Linked DNA regions of Homo sapiens: regions 1, 2, 3, 4 and 6 are each linked to region 5. Evidence: promoter capture Hi-C in 16 types of primary human blood cells and fetal thymus (Javierre and others, 2016). All regions are on one chromosome and are shown on one strand. The core of a region is centred on a gene start or on the middle of the fragment in contact, and the rest is flanking DNA. Distances in the headings are between cores, read along the strand shown.

Region 1 (2,700 bases), core at 54-2,553, 400 kb before region 5:
GCCTCCCTAGTAGCTGTGATTACAGGCGCCTGCCACTATGCCTGGCTAATTTTTTGTATTTTTAGTAGAGACAGGGTTTCACCATGTTGGCCAGGCTGGTCTCAAACTCATGACTTCGTGGTCCGCCTGCCTTGGCCTCCCAAAGTGCTGGGATTACAGGCATGGGCCACTGTGCCTGGTCTCCTCAAATTTTTTTTTTTAACTCTTGTTTTTCTCCTTGAAATAGTGCCAACCTAGGCATTATTTCCCAATTCTATAACCTATATTCCCAGTATTCCATCTCCCCATCTCAGCTTTCAAGGCTGAGTGCTAATCTGCATGTGGGGTGCAGTGTGAGGGCCTTTTTCAGCCTTCACATCAGTAAACCAGCATGGAGATTTAGTATTGACTGCTGCAGTGTGTTTCATGCTGAGAAGTCATGGAGGGGAGATGGACTGCATTTAAACAACATTCCTCAGGTGTTTTCGTTAACCTGGAAAGCCTAGGCAGGGATTAAACATTTCTCCTTCTCTCTTTATCTGAATTCTCAGGTACCATAAACACCTTTATTTGAACCTTTAGGACTCAGTTTTAGTGAAGATAATTGTTTCAGATTTGAAATTAGACAAAATTCTCAGTCATGTTGCTTTCGTCCATTCCCAAATTATTGCTAATTTAGCCAGTTTTAGGGGATTTTGTTTCATCTTTGGGTTGTTATAGGGTGATAAAATTTATACACATTGTTGTTTCATTTGTTAATTTTAGTGAGGGAAAATGTTTTTTTATTTTTTTTATTTTTTTGAGACGGTGTCTCGTGCTGTTGCCCAGGCTGGAGTGCAATGGCGTGATCTCGGCTCACTGCAACCTCTGCCTCCCGGGTTCAAGTGATTCTGCTGCCTCAGCCTCCCGAGTAGCTGGGACTACAGGCGCCCGCCACCACGCCCAGCTAATTTTTATATTTTTAATAGAGACGGGATTTCACCATGTTGGCCAGGATAGTTTCGATCTCTTGACCTTGTGATCCGCCTGCCTCGGCCTCCCAAAGTGCTGGGAGTACAGGCGTGAGTCACCACGCCCGGCTGGGCAAATGTCTTTATTGAAAGTTATAGTAAACTTTTATCATAATGCTGAGCGTCCAGAATTTATTGGAAGCCGAGTGGATCTTTTTCTAGTTGTCTTTATTCCCTTTTCTAGCTTGTTTCTTTCTCTTTATTCTTCTTGTAAGCTTGATGTCTTTTTCCTTGGCACAGGGTAACTAAGGAAGTGGATGCTACATCTAAAGAGGCCAAATCCTTCTTCAAGCAGAATGAGAAAGAAAAACCACAGGCTAATGTTCCTTCAGCTCTGCCATCACTCCCTGCCGGGTCAGGGTGAGTATTTGAGTCTCACTCCCTGATGTACTTGGCACGTTGGAGAAGCTTTCAGTGCAAATACCTACTTTCGCTGCAGATCAGACTCCTTGCCTGAGAGAGAGAATTATGATGCTGCTTTGCCTTTGCTGCAATATTTACCAGAATGGAAGATGCAAAGGAAAATTAGCCATAACTTTCTCAGGAGGATTGCTTGAACCCAGGAGTTTGTGACCAGCCTGGGCAATACAGTAAGACCCTGTCTCTTAAAAAAAAAAAAATTAGCTGGGCATGGTGGCTTGCACCTCTGTCCTAGCTACTGTGGAGGCTGAGGCAGGAGGATCCCTTGAGCCCAGAAGGTTGAGGCTGCAGTGAGCCGTGATTGTGCCACTGCACTCCAGCCTGGGTGACAGAGAGATCCTGTCTCTTAAAAAAAAAAAAAAAAAAAAAAAGCGAAGAAAATTAGTTGTAGCTTTCTTATTTGTTGCCAGCCTAAAAGAAGTCCTAGTTTATAGTATTGAACACAAAGCTGAACGTGTAAATTTTACATTTAAAAATAATACTTTTCAAATGAAAATATCAGCCTTCTGCAGAACTTTTCATGAAGATTTGCGATGAACACTCACTCCCATCCTCTGTGATCTTAGAGGAACATAAAAAGATCAAAGATGATTTACAAATAGTTTTCTTAACACATTGTCAGGAACTTAATGGTTTTCCTCCCTTCATATTTTTCATATTACTTGAGTTATTTTTAGCTGAAGGCTAGAATTCTTTCTTTTTGGAAGAAGTAAAAATTCTTTTCTTAACCTAAATGTGAGAAGTAAAGTATTACAGTAAATCAGAGAGGCTTAAGACTGTTGCCACAGGGAAGTGAACATAGACCCATACCATGGATAGCCCTGACTACCCACCTGACTCCTGTGGGGAGTTCTGCATAGTCTCCTACAGTGGCTTCTGTGGCCCTTCAGTCAGATATTGTCCCCTCTTCCTTCCCTCCTGGAGCATACCTGTCATTGCTATGAGCAGTAAAGTTTTGTTTCACATTTTTTTTTTGAGGTGGAGTCTCGCTCTGTCACCCAGGCTGCAGTGCAGTGGCGCAATCTCGGCTCACTGCAAGCTCCGCCTCCCGGGTTCATGTCATTCTTCTGCCTCAGCCTCCTGAGTAGCTGGGACTACAGGTGCCAACACGCCCGTCTAATCTTTTGTATTTTTAGTAGAGACGAGGTTTCACTGTGTTAGCCAGGATGGTCTTGATCTCCTGACCTCGTGATCTGCCCTCCTTGGCTTCCCAAAGTGCTAGGATTACAGGCGTGAGCCACCGGGCCCGGCCCCACTTTTTTTTTTTTTTTTTTTTTTTTTTTTTTTTTTT
Region 2 (2,700 bases), core at 101-2,600, 450 kb before region 5:
GTTTTTGTTTAACATTCTTGCATTTTAAATCAGGTGCAGCTATTGCTGGAGTTTACCGAGCAGCAGGGAAGGAAATGATACCATTTGAAGCCCTCACACTGGGCACTGGACAGACATTTTGCGTCTTGGTGGTCTCCTTTTTACGGATTTTAGCTACTCTATAGCATACATCCTTATGCTGAGATGTTGAACTTAAACTTTATGGAATCCTCCAAAAGAATACATTATGGAGTGTAGTGTTTTCTTAGTTCTTCAAAGGGAAGCAACTTGGATGAACAGGAACATGAAGGACAACACATCTCAGCCTTTTCTTCATTTTGAAGCTCCTAGAATTGAAGACTTATGTGGACTCCTATTGTTCTCAACCAAAACAAGTCTTTTGGCTTTCTTTTTTGTAGATATTTGATTTAAGCAGTTTTCATGTGTACCTTTACCCAAGCCAAGTCAACAGTGTCTCTGGGGTGGCATCCTTTGCACTGAAATTTACAGTATTCTGTGAGATGTCGCATATTTTGAAGAAACCGTGGAAGATACTGGTTTATTTCAAATGAGCAGAGTATGTTGTATTAAAATCTTATCTAATCTTGATTAAAATTTGGCAAACTCTTTTCTTTGCTACATCTTAGTGACAATAAATGCCAAATAGGTTTTGGTTGAGTATAGTTTTGAAAACAAATTTGGTGAAATAAAGCAGGAAAAAAAATTTAAGTATAACTCAAGTAGTGGCTTTGGTTCCACTGTTTATAAATAAAAAGTAGATAACAATGAATAATGTGACATTTTCTGGACAACTGTCTTGACTTCTGATTAAGATATTTTAAGAGATGTGAATTTGTTATTTTGTATGTTTTATCAAAATAAGCTAGCTAATTTAGACTTTTTAGATTTTCTGTACCACCTTTCCCTATCACTTTTAATTCTCTTAATTTTATTTCATTTAATTGGAAACATACATACCCTATTAAATGGCTTGAGTTGGAAATTTTAAGCCAGATTTGTTTGGACATTGAGGCACACATAAGATACTTTAGGCATTCTGTCATAGTTTTTCTTAGTGACTTTGGTATACTAATGACCCTTGAGAAACTATAGAAGTGCATCTGAAACTAGAGTTAGTGGTTATTGATTTTTTAGCTTAATGTGTTTACCTAGTGGTAACTCTTCAGCCCACTTTTACAGTATTGGGTATCAACTCCCAGAAAGTGCCTAAAGTTTAATGTTCAGATATGTACCCACTCTCCCCTTTACATTTTTATTCAAAAGAATTTATATCTTTAAAGAGATTTAAATATCAAGAGTTTTTTTAAAACTTAATTTTAGCTATTTAAATTTTTATTCTACTGCCTAACTTTCTTTTTCATTAAAAGGCCTGAAAACTGTGACTCTTTGAGAGGGAAAGAATCGCAGAAATTAAGTATTTAATGTGATCCTTTCCACCTAAACTGTTTTGTATGGAATACAATCAGTGTGGTGGTAGTGGTGGTGGTTATCTGCAAAATAGTTTCTGGTGATTAAATCTGACTTTTTTTTTTTTTTTTCTTTTAAATGAGACGGAGCCTCACTGTGTTGCCCAGGCTGGAGTGCAGTGGTGCAATCTCAGCTCACTCCAACCTCTGCCACCCGGGTTCAAGCGATTCTCCTGCCTCAGTTTCCTGAGTAGCTGGGATTACAGGCACCTGCCACCGTGCCCGGCTAATTTTTGTATTTTTAGTAGAGATAGGTTTCACCATCTTGCCCAGGCTGGTCTTGAACTCCTGACCTTGTGATCCACCCGCCTCGGCCTCCCAAAGTGCTGGGATTACAGGCGTGAGCCACCGCGCCTGGCCATAAATCTGACATCTTTAAAGGAAAGTTTTCATTGTGAGATTAAGGCTTAACAGCCCATGAGGTCATATACACATGAACGTATCTATTCCATTTAAAGCAATACACACTCTGGCTTCTGATTAAAAATAGCCAGGAGGAGAGTCTCTGAATCTACTGTGATTCTGGAGTCTGCCCAATTTGGAAAAAAAAAAAAAAGAAAAAAGTCAGGAGGACCAATTTGCCAGGGAAACTCATAGAAAAGAATTACAAAGAGATCACAAAAACTGGACATATTCTTTTGACTAATTAGACCACTTATGGCTGGGCGCAGTGGCTCACACCTATAATCCCAGCACTTTGGGAGGTCGATGTGGGAGGATTGCTTGAGCCCAAGAGTTCAAGACTGGCCTGGGCAACATAGTGAGACCTTGTCTCTACTACAAAATAAAAAAAAATTAGCTGGGCGTGGCCTCAGCTACCCAAGAGGCTAAAGTGGGAGGATCACTTGTGCCTGGGAGGTTCAGGCTGCTGTGAGCCGAGACCACGCCACTGAACTCCAGCTTAGGCCACAGGGCAAGACCCTGTCTTAAAATAATATTACTAATTTTGGTAATTAACTTATCAAAACTATAGTGACATATACACGGGCAGAAACTTATAAGTAGAGTTGTAATGCAGCCAAATATTCTTACAAATTCCCTAACAAGAAGCTCAAATCTTTCTCACAGGCAAATTGTAAAAATTCTAGTTTTTTGTTTAAAGAGCTGTGATTTTCAAAAGTATCCCTTCAGTTTAAGAAATCTGGGGAATTGGTAACTTTTCTTATGGGAAATGATTGCCATCATCTCTACTGAAGGATGCCTCTTACTGAAAAATGTCTTTTGAAGGAGTTCT
Region 3 (2,700 bases), core at 168-2,667, 470 kb before region 5:
TTTGTTATTTTGCATCAAGAAGATATATTATCCACATCAACACTGTATCAACTCCTCATGGCCACCACAGACCCTGTGTCCCCTAGCTTTGTCTTTGATGTGCCTTTGTCACCCACTCCTACAGACTGCGCCCCACCACTGCCACAACTGCCCCATCACCTCTACAGGGTTAAATCAATGGTTTTAATTTTTGCCTACCTGATGGGTGAAAAATGTTACTTGATGTTTCAGTCTGCACTTCTTTAATTCCTGGGGCAGCTGAACATCTTTTCATGCTTATGACTCAACTGTATTCCTTTTTCATTGTTCAAGGCTGTGCCCATGTTGCTGTTGACTTACCACAGCCTCTTTTGAATATGCTTTGTTATTTTTGTTGTGCAAATGGTTTCTCCTAGCTTGTCATCTGTTTTTTGTTGTTGTTGTTTTGTTAACTTACTTTATGGCATTTTCCCCTCAGGCTTCTTAAAAAAAAAGAAGCTTCATTGAGCTATAATTGATATACAACATCTGCACATAAAGTGTAAAGTTTGATTAAACATTTGTATATACCTGTGAAATCAAATCACCACCTCATCACAATCAAATTTCAAAAAGTTTCACCTAGTTTATCATATTGTTGAATGTGAATCCTTTCCTTATGGCCAGTGGATTTTATGTCTTGTTGAAACGACTTTGTCCTGCTACAGTGATAAAAATGGTCTTCACGCTTGCTTCCAGTACTTTAGTAGTCTAGTGTTTTACGCTTGGATCTAAATTGCATGCAATATTCCTGATCGGTGCGAGTCATCAGTTCTCCCAGCGCCCTCTACTGAATGATCTCACTCATCACACACTGAAACCACCATGGGCTGGAATCTGTCCCTCACCCACAGGCCCACTCCACACCAGTGGATCAGGCGAGCAATTTCTTTAGGTCGAGTGACCCCTATGCTGAGGTCCAGTGGGTTATCCCGACTACCTTCACAAGTTAATGGATTTAGATTTAAGCACCACCTGCCCCCAGCAGATTCTCTTACAATTTAAATATCCTCTCACAGTGCAAATCCTTATTCTGTGAATGACTCTATTCAGACCATGTTCCTTAAGAACCAGAGCTAGGCTGGGTGCAGCTGTAATGCTAGCAATTTGGGAGGCCAAGGTGGGCAGATTGCGTGAGCTCAGGAGTTCGAGACCAGCCTGGGCAACTTGGCGAAACCCTGTCCCTACTAAAAAAAATACAAAAACGTAGCCAAGCGTGGTGGTATGTGCCTGAAATTCCAGCTACTTGGGAGGCTGAGGCATGAGAATTGCTTGAACCCAGGAGGTAGAGGTTGCAGTGAGCCAAGATCGCCCCACTGCACTCCAGCCTGGGTAATAGAGCGAGACTCTGTCTCAAACAAACAAAAAACGAAAGAACCAGAGCTAAAGTCTTGATGAAATGGAAAGGATTGGCCTACTATCCATTTTTCCAAGATGGCAATTCATTCCAGCCAATCGAGCATTTTCTCCTTTGGGAGTAAGACCAGAAAACCTGGCCTGTCCTGCAAGTCTTGTGTTATTCTGCTCCCAGTCCTCAAGAACTCCACTCATTCATTCAACACACATTATGGGTTGAGCACCAACCAGGCACTGGGCTATTATAGGAGCTGGAGATACAGCAGGACCAAAAACAGACAAAAAGCAAAAACCCCTGCCCTAGGCTGGGTGCAGTGGTTCACACCTCTAATCTCAGCCCTTAGTGAGGCCGAGGCAGGTGGATCACCTGAGGTCAGGAGTTCAAGACCAGCCTGACCCATATGGTGAAACCCAGTCTCTACTAAAAATATAAAAATTAGCTGGGCATCGTGGCATGCACCTGTAGTCCCAGCTACTCAGGAGGCTGAGGCAGGAGAATTGCTTGAACCCGGGAGGCGGAGGTTGAATTGAGCCGAGATGGCGCCAAAGGACTCCAACCTGGGCGACAGAGCGAGACTCCATCTCAAAAACAAACAAAACAAAACAAAACAAAACAAAAACCAGCCAGGCGCAGTGGCTCACGCCTGTAATCCCAGCACTTTGGGAGGCCGAGGCAGGCAGATCATGAGGTCAGGAGTTCGAGACCAGCCTGGCCAACATGGTGAAACCCCATCTCTACTAAAAATACAAAAATTAGCCAGGCGTGGTGGTGGTGGTGCACGCTTGTAATCCCAGCTAATCAGGAGGCTGAGGCAGGAGAATCGCTTAAACCTGGGAGGCGGAGGTTGCAGTGAGCTGAGATCGCGCCACTGCACTCCAGCCTGGGCGATAGAGTGTGACTCTCTCAAACAACAACAACAACAACCCTGCCCTTCAGGAACTTGCATTCTGATGGTGGGGAGATAGCTGATGAATAAGCTTAATAAATGGCTACATTATTTAGCATATTAGAAAGTGCCAAGGATTAAAGTAGAGAAGGATCGGGGGATGAGGAATATATGTGTGTAGAGGTGTGAGTTGTAATTTTTAATGGGGTGATCAGGGTAGGTCTCAGTGAGAAAGCGACATTTGAGGAAAGTCTTACAGGAGGTGAGGGAGTATGTTAAGGGCAATCATGGGTAGCCTGTCTGGGAGCAGGAAAGAGCTAACACAAAAGCCCTAAGGAGGGGAGGCATCTGGCTTGTTGAAAGAGCAGCAAGGGGCCAGGGGGTCTGGTGTGCTGGACCGCCTCCTTGGCTTCCTTAGACAGGGCCCAGGAAACCTCCA
Region 4 (2,700 bases), core at 110-2,609, 260 kb after region 5:
TGTCCCCCTGGTCCAGCAGCCTCTTTTTGCCACTTCGCCATGTCCTTTTCGGAGCCCTCCCTTGGGAGCCCTCTCCACCCTTTCCACCCGGGGGACCAGCCTCCCTTTGGGGAGGGGGCAAGAACAGGTGTGATTTGAGGGGTTTGCAGAAGTTCGCTGCCCAGATGCTCAGCAGCGGAGTTAGCCCTGAATTCACATCTCTTGTACTGAGCCCTCACTGTGTGCCAGCCGCTTTCAATGTATTATTGGTTATCTGCTTTAATCCTGCTGACAGCACGAGGGATAAGGATTATAATTATCCTGATTTAACTGATAAGGAAGAGCTTAAATCTCCCGCCCAAAGTCACCTCTGGGCACACTAGCAGCCCAGATAGCGGCCCCTCCCCTCCACAAGGTCCTGGAACCTTCCCACCCCAACAGCTGACCATGAATAAGACCCTGAGGCCGGTGAGTAGGAGAGGGAGTGGCAGAGGGAGGGAGGAGGCTGAGCAGATACCAGCAGTGTCTCCCAAGCCAGCCACATCCTCTTCCCCATCCTTCCTCAGGCTAAGCCAGATGCTGGCATAACCAGCTGCTGGGGCTGGCCAATGGGTGTGATCAGCCTCTTCCCTCAAGGGACAGATAGACGCATCCAGCAGGCATCCCCAAACTCCCTGTCCCTGCCCCCTGCCTGACATAACACAGACCACCAGGGTCCCCAGGGCCTGGAAAGGCTATTGAAGTTGGCCATAGTGTTTTGCCCATTTAGGACCCCCAGATCAGTCACTGAGAACTCAGGAAGATAGCATCCAGATCAGAGAAAGGGCCCTTTTGGCCAACACACTCTCGGGGGGACCAGCCTTGGCACTGTGGGCACTGGCCTGGCTCTCCTCTAGGCACCCTGCCTGCCTAGTCGCCTTGGGTCCCCTTGGGCCTCCTTTCTCTCTATAATCCCTCCCAGCCAGAGTAGGGGTCTGGAGGGCCCAACATCCAAAGGGCCTCCCCAAGGCTGTCCATACTGGGCTTAGAGTCCCTGAGTCTCCTCTCTGCCTGCCTCCTTGCTCAGAGCTCCTGGCCCCTCTTCAGAGGAGCTCAGCGGTGCTCAAAAAATACCCCAAGGCAGAAAGCAGGCAGGTGGGCTGGGCACTGCCCTCTGCTTCCGTGGGTCTTAGAGGACACCCTGGGAGGGCAGTGGACAGGGCAGGCTGGGAGGCAAGAGATGCCACAGTGTTCCAGTATGATGCAGAAAGCTATTCCCTCTATCTTTTTTATTTTTTTAGAGACAGGTTCTCACTCTGTTACCCAGGCTGGAGTACAGTGGCAAGATTGCAGCTCACTGCAGCCTCAACCTCCCAGGCTTGAGCCATCCTCCCACCTCAGCTTCCTAATTAGCTGGGACTACAGGTGCATACCACCATGCCTGGCTAATTTTCTTAAATTTTTTTGTAGAGATAGGGTCTTGCTATGTTGTCCAGGCTGGTCTCAAACTCCCAGCCTCAGTGATCCTCCCACCTTGGCCTCCCAAGGTGCTGGGATTGCAACCCTGCATCTTATTATTGCGTAGGATTATCTGGAGGATCTAGTGGAATGTACTAAAGGATATCAGAAAGTGTGCTGCAAGGGAAAGACCACCCTACCTGGTTTTGGGGTGGGGCCCCTGGGCAGGCTCCCTTCGCTCGTCTTCAGCCCTAAGGGCAGAGGTCATGCCTGCTTTCTGCCAGCGCTCAAGCTGTCTTTCATCTCTCCCTGTGTCTCTGGCATTTTTGCTCCCTATCCACTCTCCGCTGCCTGAATCCTCGTGGGGTGAGCCTGAGGCCACCTCCCTGTCCTCACATCCCCTGGGTGACGGGAGGGTCATAGGGCTCAGGGGGAGGAGGCAGGTGATCCGGAACCACCTCTGTGGACTTCAGCTTGTCCCAGTTAGACCGCGCAGGACGGGCCTGCAGCCACTCCGGCAACGCCACCAAGAGCCCCACCTCACTGCCCCCACTGACCGCTGCTGGCTGTGAGGAATCACAGCCGTTGTGCTGAGGAAGTCACAGCCATGGGATCCCAATCTGGCTGACAGGAGGCCTCCTGGCCGAGCCTGGGCTGTGAGTGGGGCACTCGAGTCCAGGCCCTGCCACAGCATATGCAGCCGAACATCTGACCCTGTCTTCTCATCTGTCAAAAGAGGTCATCATCGGCCCCAACTCCCAGAATTAAGGCTCATGAAGGATAGGGGATGTGAGGCCTGAGCCCCAGCTGACCAGCGACCAGGTTGCAGACAACCGGCCCCCACTCCTCTCCCGCAGCCCCGGCTGCCTGGAAGCCTGTCTCCACCTCTGCTCAGAAAGCTGCCCTGGGGCAATATGCCTGAGTTTGGGTGGACATTTCTTTAAACAATTGCCTTAGCTCATCGCTGTGGGGGTGAGCAGTGCTGCTGACACTGAGCAGCTACCCTGCCCCCGCCGCCTGCCCCCGCTCACCACATTTGCCACCTTAGGGAGAAGCAGATTCTGGGCACACCCTTCCCCAGGAAAGCGTCCTATGCCACCTGGCCCTGTGCTGCCCAGGAGGAGGGGTCCTGGGGAGGGGGAGGAGGAAAACAGGGAAGGCCCCCTTCTACCGGGGCACCATGCCCTTCCGCCCACCCTCTGGGCAGCAGGCTGCCCTTTCCCCCTGCCGTGCTGCTGTGGGCCACATTCCTGGCATAGCCTGGGAGAAGCCCTCCCCTTCTCT
Region 5 (2,703 bases), core at 204-2,703:
CCATCTCTCCGTTACCGGTGAGGCAGGCACAGTGCTGCAGTGGCAGAATGGAAGTACCCAGGCTGACTTGCTCTCAGCCAGACACGACCTCTTCTCTGAGGAGGGTGATGCCAATAAATGGAACTCCAATAGGTAGGCTTCGCTCTGCCCTTCCACAAGTGAACACACGCCGTGAGTCCCTAAATCGCCAGGCTCCGCAGCCTCGCAGAAAGCCTAGTTTCCAGACGGTAGGTATCCCATTTATCCCTTGGCATCGGGAACCAAAGGGAATGCAGACAGATCCCGGTCGTGCACTACATTCCCAAACCTTGGCACGCACGCGAAGGCTTGGGGCGCCCCGGCGCGCCCTCCCTCCGAGGCCTCCACCACCCGCGGACTCACCACTATGCGAGCTGAACCACCTGGGTGCGATGTGCAGAGGTAGAGCATCCGCCAGCGAGGCTCGGGAGCCCAGGTACAGCATCCCGTCTCTATGGTGACCGCCGCCCGTCTCCTGGTAACCATTGCCATGGGCATAGGTGGAGTCGGACGCAGACCCTCCGCCGCCGGGCGCCCTCTCGGAGTCGCCGGTGCCCCGGGAGGCGGGGGTGTAGAGGCCAAAGGGCACCCCCCCGGCCGTGCTGGGGTCCATGCCCATGCCTGCCACCGAGCTGACCGAGCGGCTGCGCAGCCCCATGGCCCCGCCGCCCGTCCGGTAGTGCCCGAAATGGGGCGCCCCTCCCGGCGGCGGCACGGCGCTGTCATCGGTGGAGACCCCCGGGAAGGGGCCCCGGGAGCGGGCCGCCGTGCTCTGCTTGCCCCCCATGCTCGCCCGGGCCCCGGTGGGGCGGGAACCTGGAGGCCGAGACCCTCCCCCACTTCTCAGCAGCAGGGGGAGGGCTGGGCGAGCATAAAGGGGGAGGGAGTCAAAAAGGAGACCCGGAGGGAGAAAAGGAAAAAAAGCAAAAGGAAAAAAGGAAAAAACCCGCGGGGCGGAAGAGGCAGGCGGGCGGGCGGGGATCCCAAACTCAGAATTTCAAACGATCCAAGGCAAACGCATGTTTCCCCTCAAGGTCCAAAGAGGCGCAGTCCGGCGCGGGCTCCGCGCGCCACAGGCCGCCCCCGGGCTCCGAAAGCCGGGGGAGCCGCAGGGAAGGAGGGAGGGAGGCGGCGGCGAGCGGCGGGCGGGCGCGGGGAGGCGCCGGAGGAGGCCGCCCGCCCCGCGGGAGGAGGCGGAGGAGGGCCGGGGGCGCCGGGCGCGTCCCCCGCCTCAGGACGCCGCGACCATGGACGGCGGCCCGGACCCCTCCAGGCCTCGGGCGGGCCGCGGCGCTGGGCGGCCAGGCGCAGCTCGGGAAGCCGCGGTCGCGTCGCGTCGCGCTCTCGCTTCAGCCGCCGCCGGCCCCGCCAGCCGCGCCGCCCCGCTCGGTCCCGGGCTGCGCTCGCCGGCGCTCCTCGCCGCCGTGGAGACAATGGAGGGCGGCAGAGCGCAGGCGCGGCCCGCGCCCCCTCCCCCTCCCCCCGCCGGGTTAACCCTTTCGCGGTCCCTGCGGCGCCTGGGCCGCTGACGCCCCAGCAGTCCCCACCCACCGCCCGCCCCCGGCCGGCCTGTGACCTGGGCGGCCTGACCACTGGGCGTTAGCCACAGAAACCAGATGTCTTTCAAAAGCAAACACTTCTTAAGTCCCCGAAAGTGGCAAATTATTCAGGGGGAACCAAGTATGGGGGAGGGGCAGCAATGGTTCGAGGGGGTGGGAAGGAAACACCGGGAAGAAGGAGATTTACTCCTTACGCCTACCTGGCTCTGAGGGTCACCGGTCGAGCTCCCCTCCTGGCACAAATTTGCCCCCACAGCACCCTCTGGTGGACGTGATGTCCATTCTTTCGGGGGTTCCCCATCCAAGCACCCCTCACGTCCGGAATCTCAACATTTGGCGGGGTTTAGTTATTTGGGGGTAAACAGCGCCATGGGGACACTTGTGAATCCGGCGTTTTGCTGACACTAGATCATAACTTCCTATTTTGGGCTTAAGCAAATGAGTAGATTCCTTAGCTAAAATGTAATTTTCAGAATCAATAGATGTACCATAAAAAGTGAATAGATATGGGTATGGAAATAGAACAACGCAGCTAGAAGTGATTATAGAAACCTTCTGTCCAAGGCTGGAGCCCTGTTTTGTTTACCATGTGCTGTGTTTCGGCCCTCACCACGGGCCAAGGACACGGTGGGTACTCAATAGGTGTATTGTTGACCAAGCCTGAATCATTTGCAAGGGAGTGTTCCTTTGCTACCTCAAGCCGTCTTTCTCCTATATTCACATTCATTTATTGAACAACTGTTTTTTTTGTTTTGTTTTGTTTTTGTTTTTGAGACGTAATCTCGCCCTGTCACCCAGGCTGGAGTGGTGTGGCGTAACCTCGGCTCACCGCAACCTCCGCCTCCCGGATTCAAGTGATTCTCCTGCCTCAGCCTCCCGAGTAGCTGGGATTACAGGCACATGCCACACTGCACCTGGCTAATTTTTTGTATTTTTAGTAGAGGCGGGGTTTCACCGTATTGGCCAGGCTGGTCTTGAACTCCTGACCTCAGGTAATCCACCTGCCTTGGCCTCCCAAAGTGTTAGGATTACAGGCATGAGCCACCGCGCCCGCCCTGTTTTTCTTTTTCTTTTTTTTCTTTTCTTTTTTTTTTTTTTTGAGACGGAGCCTTGCTCCTCCCAGGCT
Region 6 (2,700 bases), core at 144-2,643, 380 kb before region 5:
TGGCAAATAAAACCCCGACTGGAAGTTATTGAAACTGTCTTCCCCCACCCCACCCTGCCGGCTGTAACCACTATTTCAGCTCATGTGCTCTACTGTGGTTTTCAGTTCCTTCTTTGATCCAAATACCCGGAGGTTGCCCATTCTTTCTTATGAGTTTAGCTATACACTTAAAATAATTTTTGGTATATTTTATGTAGCATTTCTAGGTCTTTATCTGGAAAATGTTTAGGTTATCTTAAGTATCCATCTTGCCTAAAATGGAAGTTCATCGGCTTTAAGTGCAGATACCCTATGTAGCTTTTCTTTCTTTTTTTTTTTTCAGATGGAGTTTTGCTGTGTTGCCCAGGCTGGAGTGCAGTGGCACAATCTCAGCTCAGTGCAACCTCCACCTCCTGAGTTCAAGCGATTTTCCTGCCTCAGCTTCCTAAGTAGCTGGGACTACAAATGAGTACCTGCACGCCTGTCTAATTTTTGTATTTTTAGTAGAGACAGGGTTCCACCATGTTGCCCAGGCTGGTCTCAAACTCCTGGGCTCAAGTGATATGCCCATCTCGGCCTCCCAAAGTGCTTAGATTACAGGCATGAGCCACTACGCCCAGCAATCCCTTTACCTTTAAAAAAATAAATAAATAAACCTTTAATTTTAAGAGGTTGTATACTCATGTGTAGTCATATAAACTAGTGCAGAGATTCCTTGTTCCTTTGACCCAGTTTCCCCCTATGGTACCATCTTATAATATTACAACTGGGATATTTACATTGACAGATATAGTCAAGATACAGAACATTTTCATATCTGCTAAGATTCCTCATGTTCTCTATAGCTACATACACTTTCCTCCTGCCCTCACCCCCTCCTTAACCTCTGGTAATCACTAATCTAGAGATTTCCTTTTTGGGAGTTTTTAAATGACAAATTGTTTCCTTAATAGTTACAGGGCTCTTTCATATTGAGTGTCTTGTGGTTTGTCTTTTTTGAGGAATTAGTCTATGTTGCCAAATTTATTTGGGTAGAATTCTGCATAATATTCTCTTATCCTTTTGATACTTGTAGTGATATCCCATTTCATTACCTCCGATATTGGTAATTTGTGCCTTCTCTCTCTCTCTCTTTTTTTTTTGGTCAGTCTTGCTAGACGTTTGTCGATTTTATTGATCTGTTCAAAGAACCAGCTCTGTTTCATTGATCTTTCCCTTTATGTTTTCAATTTCATTTACTTCTATAATTATTTCCTTGCTTCTGCTTGGTTTGCCTATATATTGCTCTTTTTTTTTACTAGATTCTTGAAGTTGGAGCTTAGATTATTGATTTGAGACTTTTCCTCTTTACACTGTATGTATTTCTTACTACACATTTCCCTCACACTGCTTTAGCTATATTCAACAATTTTTGATACATGTATGATTTTATTCCGTTCATTATTTTTTTAATTCCCTTGAGACTTTCTTTTTGACCCATGCATTATTTAGAAGTGTATTGTTCCATTTCCAAGTTTTCAGAGAGTTTTCTGTTGTCTTTCTGTTGTTGCTTTCTAGTTTGATCATGTTGCTGGTGAACACATTCTTTGTGATTTCAACTCTTTTAAATTTGTTGATATTAATTTTATGGGCCAGGATGTGGTCTGTCTTGTATATTCTGTGGACACTTGGAAAGACCAGTATCTTTGTTTTTACCCCAATATCTTTTAAATAAATTCCTTTTTTGTCGGCCAGTCAGTGTCTGTGTCTTGCACTAAACTCTAACTACTACCCCTTTGCAACTGCATTTGTTTAATAGCCTTTATTGTAGCACTAACTATCCCATACTCCCTCATCGTCAGTTTTACACCTTAGTCTCCATCACTACGCTGTGAGCTTGAAGGCGTAGATTTTGTCTTTTTTGTATGTGTCCAGCCTGGTACGTGGCAAATAATTTATAGTATTTGATTAAGGAGTAAATGAATAGCTTTTATTAATGATCACCATTTTTTAAAACTTTGATCTGTGGAAATTTAGTTCTTATCCTTTTAGTTTTGCATATTTTGTCAGTTTTCATCTTAAAAGCAGGGTGGTTTTGGTTTCATAGCTTGTGTTCAGCAAGTAGCTGACCCCAAAAACAGACTGTAAATGTCTGTTATATGATTGGAATGACATTTTATTTCAGCTTAATCATGCCATAGTTCAAGCAGAGACGTGAGATGCTCCTTACTCATTCCACAAGACCTATTTTGCAATTCCTGCTATTTCCTTTATTTCAGGTTGACTTGTCCTCTAGTTGTAGAAGTGTTGTTTCCATAGCAATGCAGCTTACAACGCACATCCCTGTCAGAGTGCACAGAAACCCTGCTGTGTTGCCTGGAAGCCTTGTTTTCCAGTCAGAAAGGAAGCACATGGTATTCCCTCAGCCTTTCCTGCACTTAACTTTGGCTTGCCTTGTGGATAACAAGAAACTCTTGGTTGTTTTCTACCATAGATGCTGGGTTAAAATGTATCTAAGGGATTTTGATGTATAATGTGCCCTGTTACTACAGTGTTCAGGCTGTGGCTGGTGACTGCTAGCGAAGTTGCTGCGTGAAATAGATGTAGGGGACGTTACAGGAATGTGAGCTAAACAGTCTGCCACTCAGCATGAAATTCTATTTATTGCTAAAGCAGTTTGGGGCAACTGCATGTTTGTTGCTTTGGATGATTTTCTTTTGGTTTTTACTGCCTATGAGAACA

What was found. The method cuts DNA at HindIII sites, captures the fragments that hold promoters and counts their contacts. A CHiCAGO score of 5 or more calls a contact.
Region 1: a fragment that was not itself captured here is called in contact with the fragment with the promoter of ZNRF1 in region 5 in 5 of 17 cell types (M1 macrophages, naive CD8 T cells, fetal thymus and 2 more); the score reaches 9.2 in M1 macrophages.
Region 2: a contact is called between a fragment that was not itself captured here and the fragment with the promoter of ZNRF1 in region 5, in 3 of 17 cell types (neutrophils, M1 macrophages and fetal thymus). The highest score is 8.1, in neutrophils.
Region 3: a fragment that was not itself captured here is called in contact with the fragment with the promoter of ZNRF1 in region 5 in 1 of 17 cell types (total B cells); the score reaches 5.1 in total B cells.
Region 4: a fragment that was not itself captured here is called in contact with the fragment with the promoter of ZNRF1 in region 5 in 1 of 17 cell types (fetal thymus); the score reaches 5.9 in fetal thymus.
Region 6: a contact is called between a fragment that was not itself captured here and the fragment with the promoter of ZNRF1 in region 5, in 8 of 17 cell types (fetal thymus, megakaryocytes, naive CD8 T cells and 5 more). The highest score is 7.7, in fetal thymus.

Annotation. Positions count from the first base shown.
Region 1 is chr16:75,393,739-75,396,438 of GRCh38, reverse strand. CFDP1 (craniofacial development protein 1) reads left to right here. Exons shown (of 7, transcript NM_006324.3): 5 at 1,230-1,349. Among named protein-coding and RNA genes, the nearest start is that of CFDP1, 38 kb to the left of the region's middle. The HindIII fragment of the contact is 193 bases long and covers 1,207-1,399 here.
Region 2 is chr16:75,445,022-75,447,721 of GRCh38, reverse strand. It overlaps TMEM170A (transmembrane protein 170A), which reads left to right. Exons shown (of 3, transcript NM_145254.3): 3 at 34-2,700. The coding sequence ends at 164. Among named protein-coding and RNA genes, the nearest start is that of CFDP1, 13 kb to the right of the region's middle. The HindIII fragment of the contact is 6,922 bases long and covers 1-2,700 here.
Region 3 is chr16:75,470,061-75,472,760 of GRCh38, reverse strand. It overlaps CHST6 (carbohydrate sulfotransferase 6), which reads left to right. Exons shown (of 3, transcript NM_021615.5): 3 at 1-709. Among named protein-coding and RNA genes, the nearest start is that of TMEM170A, 6.7 kb to the right of the region's middle. RefSeq lists an enhancer at 470-1,112. The HindIII fragment of the contact is 1,875 bases long and covers 480-2,354 here.
Region 4 is chr16:74,734,541-74,737,240 of GRCh38, reverse strand. All of the region lies in intron 2 of FA2H (fatty acid 2-hydroxylase), which reads left to right. Among named protein-coding and RNA genes, the nearest start is that of MLKL, 35 kb to the right of the region's middle. The HindIII fragment of the contact is 9,725 bases long and covers 1-2,700 here.
Region 5 is chr16:74,997,774-75,000,476 of GRCh38, reverse strand. It overlaps ZNRF1 (zinc and ring finger 1), which reads right to left and starts at 1,453. Exons shown (of 5, transcript NM_032268.5): 1 at 382-1,453. The coding sequence starts at 805. RefSeq lists silencers at 432-741, 1,142-1,661. The HindIII fragment of the contact is 6,289 bases long and covers 1-2,703 here.
Region 6 is chr16:75,377,757-75,380,456 of GRCh38, reverse strand. The region is part of intron 5 of CFDP1 (craniofacial development protein 1); the gene reads left to right. Among named protein-coding and RNA genes, the nearest start is that of CFDP1, 54 kb to the left of the region's middle. The HindIII fragment of the contact is 3,092 bases long and covers 1-2,700 here.